Linked DNA regions of Homo sapiens: region 1 is linked to region 2. Evidence: promoter capture Hi-C in human tissues and cell types (Jung and others, 2019). All regions are on one chromosome and are shown on one strand. Each heading gives the region's core, a stretch centred on a gene start or on the middle of the fragment in contact. The rest is flanking DNA. Distances are from core to core; before and after follow the strand shown. Region 1 overlaps LOC107985962 (a long non-coding RNA gene). Region 2 holds the start of HOXD13 (homeobox D13).

Evidence for each region. Contacts are between HindIII fragments. The study calls those that stand out against the background at their distance.
Region 1: a contact is called between a fragment that was not itself captured here and the fragment with the promoter of HOXD13 in region 2, in 1 of the 25 tissues and cell types used here (mesenchymal stem cells).

The regions. Positions count from the first base shown.
Region 1 is chr2:175,676,627-175,681,334 of GRCh38, reverse strand. The region is part of intron 3 of LOC107985962 (a long non-coding RNA gene); the gene reads left to right. Among named protein-coding and RNA genes, the nearest start is that of LNPK, 320 kb to the left of the region's middle. The HindIII fragment of the contact is 4,139 bases long and covers 1,062-4,708 here.
Region 2 is chr2:176,090,617-176,095,632 of GRCh38, reverse strand. It overlaps HOXD13 (homeobox D13), which reads right to left and starts at 2,912. Exons shown (of 2, transcript NM_000523.4): 1 at 1,962-2,912; 2 at 1-1,153. The coding sequence starts at 2,742. The coding sequence ends at 903. The HindIII fragment of the contact is 2,672 bases long and covers 308-2,979 here.

The sequences.
Region 1 (4,708 bases), core at 1,882-4,381, 410 kb after region 2:
AACAAAGAAAATCTATTTGATGGGATGTAAAACTACGCAGTGTGACGGTCAGGCGGTCCCTGAAGGATGTGAAGCCTGCCGGCAAAATCATGGCCCTGCTCCACTCCTGCTGCATGTTCTATGCACAGAAGGAGGGAAAAGTTTGAATTTTTCAGAGGAGATAACAGAACAGTTCATCATTTCATTATCTGCATGTTATTTTTCAGCATCTATTTCCATACCATATCCATTAGGAATTACAAGGATTTGTCTTTGAATCTATCTATATATGTGTGTACTTAAAGGACTTGAAAAGGGCATTTTCAACCCTTGATGTGATTCGGTTCTATTTCAATAAAACTGCTTCATGAATACCAACCAATTTAGTAAGGTCAATTTTCCTTGCTGCTAAATTCCTCTTTCAGAGTGCAGAAAAATTCTACGGTCACCAATAAGAATCCTGGCAAAGTAAAAAGAAATTAATGAAGATAGTCAAGTTCCCTCCGTTTTATACATGAGGCCATGCTGCTGGTTAGAGAGCTACACTCTCTAAAGGGCTATTTACTTTTATAATAATTTCATAAACTGAGCCCAAGCTAAGTCAAATCACACCACACGTGACCTAACCCAGGTTGGTTGGAAAGCTTGATGTCAGGGCTGTATAGCAGAGTTCTTAAGCAAATGGGCTCTGTTCACAGAATGCCTGAGTTAGAATCTTGGCTCTACTCCTAACTATACCTGCGCAGCCTAGGGCAGGTTACTGAACCTTTCTAAGGCCTTGGTTTTCTCATTTCTAAACTTGGATTTTTTAAAATCCCTCTGTTATAGATTAAATTGAGATAATTTATGTGACATGCTTAGCACAGTGCTTGATGCATAATAACAAGAAGCACTTAATGTGTGCTCTGTTTTAAGAGCTTTTCTTGCATTTACTAATTTAATCCTCATAACAACCATATGAAAAAAAGATACTATAATTATTCCCATTTTACAGGTAAGGAAACTGAGGCCCAGAGGGGTTGAGTAGTCTCCCTAAGATCACATAGCTAGTTACGTGGCAAAGTTAAAATTCAAGCTCATGTACGCTGGCTCCAGAGTCCATGCTCTTAACATCTGTATTATGCTGCTTCTCCCTAAGAACTTACAAATGTCATCCATTATTTACATTTTTATTAAAAGATAGAGGTTCAGAATTCAATGCAGAAATGTTTGATAATATAGTTCTTAAATTGGGAATATTATGGAATAAGGGCCTTGGGAAACTTTGCTCATCAATACTTGAGTTAGTGAATGAATGAATGAGTAAATGAGTGAATAAATGAGAGCAAGTCTTGCATGATTAAAGCCAGAAATGTGTCTTAGAACCATATTCAGGAAATCAGCATTGGTTAGAAGACATGGACATTATACTATTATAATGTCACACTAAGCATAAAATGACAATTCTGATGTATGTACTAGTAGTGTTTTTGAGACATAGGCATCTCCCTGCTGAGTCTCAGACTTCAGGTGGAGGAAGCTTGCCACCCCTTGGGAAGCACCCAACGTGATGATCCTATGTCAGCAACGTGTGTGTAAAGGTGGTTTGCCAAAATCCAGCACTGGCCCATGTAAAACACATTTTTATCTGACTTTTTAAAGCCACATTTGGAGATCCATTAGCACTGTATAGGAGGCCCGAGTGTCCTCTGCATTACGCTAATTGTTTAAGCATGACAGGTTATTACTTCAGTCAGAGGGGTAATGTAGGTTGGGGAAAAAAGTAGGGCACAAACACAATTTTCTAGTTTTTGAGAAGCAATTATAAATAGATGAGAAGCCATAAAAATATTACACGTGGGATGGCTCATCAGTAGGATTGAAAAGGCGACTGGAGCCCATGCAGCCAAGAGGAGTGGTTCAAAGCTGACAAGTCTACAGCAGTGATTCAAAAATAGCAATGATAATTCTGCAGCAAAACAGAACAATGAAACCGAGAGTCACAGCACTCAAAAAAGACATTGGCCCAACACAATGCTCTCTCATTGGATAAGCTATTTTCATAGCAAACCCAAATTTCAAAATGTCAGCCTGATAAATAGGGGAGATTTGAAAGGATACAGTCAAGGTGTTTCGTTTTAATACTTAAAGAAGAAAAAGAAGCCTACTCTTGTTTCTAACAATCTTTTAGAGCTTTAAGGAAAGAGGATGTTGTATTTTGAAAAGAGACCTGGTTGTATCTTGTCTAGAAGCTATTTTAATATATACAACCATTAAGTAGGTTCAGATCATATTATGAGGCTCATTTTTTTCTCTATAATAGGGTGAATATTAGTTAGAACTCAGTAACCACAAAGAGCTATAAAAGTTTAAAACATAATGTCTTACTTTTATTTCCATTTTCTTCTGAGTATAGGTGCCGTCTTGGTATGGTAAAATAAGATAGCATCTACTAGATTCTGGTATAATATATAGCCTGGTAGGGTGGCTATGCACATAGACTTTAGAGTTGCCTTATAGCTCTGAAAACTATCTTTACTGGTTTTCAAAACCATTGGCTGTTAGATTTTGGACAATATTTAGTATCTCCAAGGTTTCCCTTTCTCATTTCTAAAATTAGGATAAATAGCACCAGCTACATAGGGTTATTCTGAGACCTAAATTAATGAATGCAAAGCACTTAGTACGAACTAAATTAATAATGGCTGTCATTGTGATTCCTTTTACTGCCGTTGCCTGCAATCTTGGGCAGGAAGTATGATATTTGGCAAGTCATTTGGCCTTTTTGGCTCTTGACTTTTTCCAAGGAAGGTGTTGGGCTAGGTAGCTCTATCTCTGAGGTCTCTTGAAGTCTTGGGATCTGAAGTGTGTGTGTGTGTGTGTGTGTGGTCATACTTCATAGAAATCTCTGTGTATATCAGAAATCCATGCAAAGTTTTCCAAGAGCAGTGTATTTCATAGGAATCAGAGATTTTCATCTCAATTGTTCCTTCTGTTAGGCAAAGATCCTCCTAAAACTAAACTTCATATTTGAGATTAAAAATGAGATAATAACAGATTTCTAGGATTAGGCAAATTGGCACAGCTGGCAAAAGCAGTTGGACTTTATATACCCCCTTTGTCTTAGAGGTACATTCTTACTTACTAATCATTTAAAAATAAAGGAAAGATATTTCACGCACTGTCTTGTTCTGCTATAAATCCCCAGCTGAAAACATGCCTAGAATTAAATAGTACACAGAGAGGAGCAGAGTGCAGTCCTATCTCAACCTCCTCAGCATTGTTATTTGCTCTGTGATGGGAAAGAGAAAAGCCATCTATAAAGTTCCAAGTGAATTAGCAAGTGGCGCAGCTGCAGGAGTCCAGGGCTGATTTCAGACTATATTTTGACCTTATTATCCCTGCCTTTGCTATTGAGTGTCATTCTAGTCAGTGGGATTACAATGGGGAGTTTAAGGGAGAACAGAAAGAAAATGATACACAGATGCACAAGTAAAGTAGTAAAAGGAAATACTCATGAAAGGCTCAATTAGTCTGGGCACTTAGATGGAAGGGCCAGAGTAGGACTTCTGCCAAGGACAGTAACAGGAGTGCCAGGCCATTCTGCTGGCCAGGTCTTGCAGTTATCACAGAAAACCCAGGATCAATTTTCTATTTGCTATCTTATCATTCTCCACTTATGTTGAGGTAATATTAATTATATTTGGAAATTGTTTTGTTTTAAAGATCTTGAAAAAAATGACACTTATGAAGATGTGGAAGACAGAGAATTAAGCACTCAATAATAAAAACATATTCGTTTTATATGCTACTTAACATTTTACAGTGCATTTCTATCTATTTTATCTCCTCAGGCCCTTACAATTATGCTTTGAAGGTATTCTTAACTCCACCCTATCAGTTGGATGTATTAGGCTGCAAGTAACAGAAAACTCAACTCAAAGTGTCTTTAATAACAAGTACATTTGTCTCTCTTTATCTGCTGTTTTGCTTTCTGAAACAGTGGTTCCAAAATAGGTGAGTACAGTACAATAAGGTATTTGGAGAGAGACAGAGACCACATTCACAGAACTTTTATTACAGTATGTTGTTATAATTGCTCTACTTTATTATCCATTGTTGTTCATCTCTTTTTGTGCCTTATTTATAAATTACATTTTATCATAGGTGTGTATGTATAAGGGACAACATAGGATATTTAGAGTTTGGTACTATCGGTGGTTTCAGGCATCCACTGGAGGGTCTTGGAACATGTTCCTTGCCATTAAGAAGGGACTACTGTGAATGCATTCTTTTAATTCAGAGCTGTGGGAAGATTTCAGTGTTGATCGATTTAGTGGCTCACCATTATCATCAAGACCCCTAGTGTTCTGTCACAAGTGTTGCATGCATCCTCAGGCTGATAGGAAGATGGCTATAGCGGTTCCAGCCATCACAACAAAGCCCAAATACTTCTAGAAGAAAATGAAAGATTATTTCCCCCTCTAGAGCTCTCTATTAGGAGTGAGAATTTTTTTTTTCCAAATGCCCCCCTCAAGTTTCCCTTCATGTCTCATTGGCCAGAATTGCATCTCATTCATGAACTGATCATTGACAAGAGGAATGGGATTACTTTTAGACCAGTCAGGCCCATTTCTGGGGCTGGGAGCAGGGTCAGGTTTCCCTGAGGCATGTGACTGCACGGGACAGAGGTGAAGGGTATTAGAACAGAATGAGGTTCATGTTTAAAAGGAAGACATGGCAATGGACA
Region 2 (5,016 bases), core at 1,663-4,162:
CACGGCCACATTGATTCAGCCTCTTTTTGAGGATTGAGGAGATGACCACAATCCCAGACCCATAGATCCAAGGCCAAGAAAAGGAGGTGCATTTATGCCATCCGCGGGTCACTCTACTGATTGCAGCCATTTAAATGTCTGCATTGAGAGCTCAAGAAATGAAGGCATCCACGATCCATGAGGACACATGAGTTTCAAATTAAAGATTATGAAAACACAAACCTACAAAGTGTTAAAAACAAACAATTAAAACAGCAAGTGAAACACCCAAAGTTGGAAAGATTGTCTTCATTTCAATATTGATACAATCCCTATTTAATAAGGTGGCCATTTTTAAAGCCATCACAGTACCTTCAGCCTCCTGTTTTTAGACTTTCTCGGTGACCCCAGAGCACTGCCTGCCTTTCCACTTGCCTCAGGGCAACTGCTGAGAGCTAATGATTCAATTACCTAATTACAGGATATGAACGACTGAAAACCATTCTGTCCTAATGGATTATGAAGATAATCAGTGCTGGGAATGAACAAATAAAGTAATTTTTTAAAAAAACCCTTAAATCAGAATGGCACTTCTGAAGTTCATTGGGGGGCGGATTATTAAAAAATACTTCAAGTCCCTTTATACTGGCCTGGAGGGAGAAACAAAACATTAAAAACAGATATTTTAAAAACCCTAGGCAAGAACAAAACCAATAATAAACAAGTAAAAATCAGAACTACAAAGTCAGGTTGGGCAGCAGAAGGTTTTAGAGCCAGATAAGGGGAAGAGAGAAAAACAATTCACAAAATTTGCCACCATTGGCAGGGGGTGGGGGGAATTAAATACATATTCAAGTCTTTCCAAAGGCCTTTTGGAGACAACCGAATGGCTTCTAAGCTGTCTGTGGCCAACCTGGACCACATCAGGAGACAGTATCTTTGAGCTTGGAGACAATTTTCTTGTCCTTCACTCTTCGGTTCTGAAACCAAATGGTCACTTGTCTCTCAGATAGGTTCGTAGCAGCCGAGATACGCCGCCGCTTGTCCTTGTTAATGAATTTGTTAATGGCATACTCGTTCTCCAGTTCTTTAAGCTGCAGTTTGGTGTAAGGCACTCTCTTCTTCCTCCCTCTTCGGTAGACGCACATGTCCGGCTGATTTAGAGCCACATCCCCTGATACAAACAAAAGCACAAGAAAAATTAGGCTGGGATATTCGGAGCACCTAGCTGAGGATTGTGTGTGTGTGTGTGTGTGTGTGTGTGTGTGCGTTTGCAGGGGTGCAGGAAATTTTTAAAAAATGCCATGCTGTTTGGTCTTTATTATGTACATAGACATAACACTTACCTGTTATTAAAGAAGGATTATTTGCACTTAACAACAATGGTTAATTTGATTGATTATCATAGTTTCTCAAACCGGCATCTTAACAAGCTTGCAATTTTATGGTGTGGTTATTGGGCACGTTCATGAGGACAGTTTCTGCAAATGTCGGTTGTATAAAAACAAACTTACATACATAGACACATACCAACTCAGGTCTTTTGCTCAAATTTTGATTTCCCGCGTTCCTATGTTAGGAGTTCGTGAGCTTGATCTAACAAGCTTTAGTAGTCATCTTGGGGCAGTGATGTCTTTGAAAATGGGGGGACCCAACTCTGTCAGGTTTCTTAGGAAAAAGTTCTCTTTAGGAGAAAAGGGAGAGGCCCAAGGAAAGGGCACGCAGAGACTCTCAACTTTAGGAGAAAAACGTGTCTGCGCTGCACACAGGAAAGAAAGGGCAGTGACGGAGGCAGTTGAAATCAGAGGAGGAATTTACAGATTTCACACGAACTGGACAAATTTCCACTGGGTTAACCCTGGTCACGTGTGGAGCACAGGCACAACTCCCACTCCCAAGTAGGGGCGCATACTCTTAGTCCTTTCTTTTCTCCTTCTCTCTCCCCCTCCCTCGTGTCGGTCCCTTTTCTCCATCGCCCCTACCTGGAAAGGAAGATTTCCAAAAGTGGGACCCCTGTGGCTGGTCCTTGGTGCAGTACACCTGGCTGTTCCACCCGTTAGCCAGCGTCCAGGACTGGTACCCCTCCATGGAGATGTAGGCCTCGTGCCGAGGCTCCCCGGAGCCGAAAGTGGACACCATGTCGATATAGCCGGGCACGTGCTGGTAAGGGCTCGTATAGCCCTGGTAGAAGGATACCTCCTTGGCTCGCGCTGGCACCTCGTTGGCCGGTACGCTGCTGCTCGCCAGGCCTGACACGTCCATGTACTTCTCCACGGGAAAGCCTCCCAGCGAGGCGTGCGGCGATGACTTGAGCGCATTCTGCTGTAAGCCCACGCCGTGCGACATACGGCAGCTGTAGTAGCCGTTGCCGAAGTGGTAGCCGTAGCCCAGCGCTGGAGCGCTCGGGGGCGCTGCAGCGGCCGCTGCAGGCGTGGGTGCTGGGCACTCTTTGGCTGGGGGAGCCTCCGGGCGCGCCGCTACAACGGCAGAAGAGGACGACGACGAGGAAGAGCCCGTGCGCTCAGAGGTCCCGGGGTACGCAAAGCCGGAGGCTGCCGCCGCCGCCGCCGCAGCCGCCGCTGCCGCCGCCGCCGCCCGCCCCGAATGCGTCCCGGCGAACACAGGCGCGGAGAGAAAGCCGCGGCACTGGCCTGACGCCGCCGCCGCCGCCACCGATGAGGAGGAGGAAGAGGCCGGGGCGCCACCGGCGCCCCCGCCGTCTGCCCGCAGCCCGTCCATGTCCCAGCTCCCGGCGCGGCTCATGGCCCGGCCTGGCCCGGCCCCGGCCCTGGCCCTGGCCCCGCGCAGGACACCATGGCGCGGCGCGCCTCCTCCCTCCTCTCCTTTCTCTCTGGTTCGCTCGCTCCCGCCCTCTTCCTCTAGCCCTCTCTCCCTCTGTGAGCCTCCCGCCTCCGGCCCGCCTGCCCTCCAACAGGTTAGCTCATCGCGGGACGTTTATAAAAACGAAGTTCAGGTTGGGAGGGGGCCTGGGCCGGTCGGGGGGCCGCCTCCCGCCCCGAGGGCCCCCGCCGGGGGCGTGCCATTGGCTGCGCGCGGCCACGTGGGGGTAGGAACGCGGGGGAGCCTGGCTCCCGGCCCAGGCCTGGCTGGACCCACCCACTCCGGCCCCCACCCCTCTCCTGCCCCTTGCAGGGTCCACCTCCCATTCCCGCCCTCCCCCCCGACCCAGGCGTACGCGCTGCAGCCACCCCCACGAGTTGATTGCGCGACGGCCCATCCCAGGCCCTGTCTGCGACTGAGGCGGGCGCCAAGGCCTGCGCCTTGTCTCGGCAACCGCTGTTTTTGCCACCTCTCCTCGGCTCCCCGAGTTGCACAGCAAAATGAAGACGAAGGACAGAGATGATCAGAATGATGTGAAAACAGGCCCATTTTTTTATCCTGTTGCTGAATCCCTCAGTTAGTCGACTTCTAGACCCCAAATCCGAGTGAGCTAATTTGCCCTACCTTGTGCACTGGTACCCGGCAAAGGCATTTCACACAGGTAAGAGGCATTGGAGCAGACCCTTCCTATACACACACGCTGTCCGTTCGGAAAATGCCCATGAAGCGCCCTTGGGGCTGGCGGCAGAGACTTAAACAGATGAAAGACAGGCATCGGCGCAGTGAGCCTGACAATCTGTCCCAGAAAGAAAAGTCCATGGATGCCTACTCAACGCTCTTCGCCTCTACTCTTGGGCCAGCCGGGAGTGCTTCCGACCTGGGCCTCTCAGCTCCCGCGGGTCCTTCTTCGACCCGCAGAAAGACCCTGAGAACGGCGCCGGGGGAGAAAGCCACTCAGCCTCCCACCGTGAAACTTCTGTGTCTCTCCAGCAGCCGACCGGCCTCGCATTTTGCAGTCACCACCCACTCCCGCCCGTTTCTCACACCAAATTAATTGAAAACTTCACTTTCCCAGGGACCTTTGTTTCGCTTCCTTTTCCAAGCTGTCAACTGCAGAGAACTGAGAGGGGCAAATTAAGAGGGCGCTTGTTCCAAGCAAATTCGGATTTTGTGATAGGAGCAGCCCAGAGAAACGGTCTGACTTCAAGGGGTTAGGTGGGCTCAGGGCAGTGCTGGTGGGGCTAGGTCCAGCTCTGGAACCAAGCTGCCAGGGTGTTAGGGATTACAGCCCTGTCCCTCATCATCCCTTTCTGTTGCTCCTCAGCCTCAGAGCTCCAGCCCACCATCCCTCAATCTCAGCAACTAATGGGGCACCAATGAGAGTCCTGCTGTGACTTTGGGGCTCTGCCTTAGGAACAATATTAGATCCAATGAGCCCAGGGTTCTGGGGGTGGATATGGGATCCTTCAGAGCCCATTTGGTTCTGTGGCATGCACTCCCCAAGCCAGCCCATCTCCAAGAAAATCACTCCCCTAAGCCTGTGATTGGTGAAAGCTTGTCACCCAGCACCACTGTTCCCCGACCAAAGATGCCCTGAGTAAGATGAGGAAGAGAGCCAGGAAGGCCCTCCTTGGCCTGGCCTGGCATTTCAGGGTAGGCTGCTGGTGTTAGGAGTGTTGACATGCAAAACGCAGTAACCATAAAAGGCTCAAATAAAGGGGAAAGTTATGAGAGGGGTGTTGGAAAGGAAAAGCAAGAGAATTCGTTTCATCGTTTTGAAGTTCTAGACATGTTCATGATCAAATTTGAGATGGGAGGGGCCTGAATTTACAGGAAATCATAGGGAATAGAAGTTTGCTGATGAGAAAATTTTTTTCACTATTTGGGAAAAGAAGGCAAAAGTCAGCAATGAAAGTTCAACCAGCATTTTAAAAAGGCCAACTGTGGCGAGGCGACAGGATTGCTAACTTTTAAAGAGGGTTTGGCTGGGTCTTTATGAAACAATTTTGGTACCAAACCACCAACCATGGGCCACCATGAAATGCTTTTATTTTCCCTTTGTCTCATTTTTTCTTCCTCAGACAGAGAAAACATGAAGATAGTTTTAACTTTTTATGACTCCAAAAAACAAATTCGTTGAAATATTTCTAAGATATAAGTAGAACCAACAAACTTTCAGTCTCTTAAAATTAAATA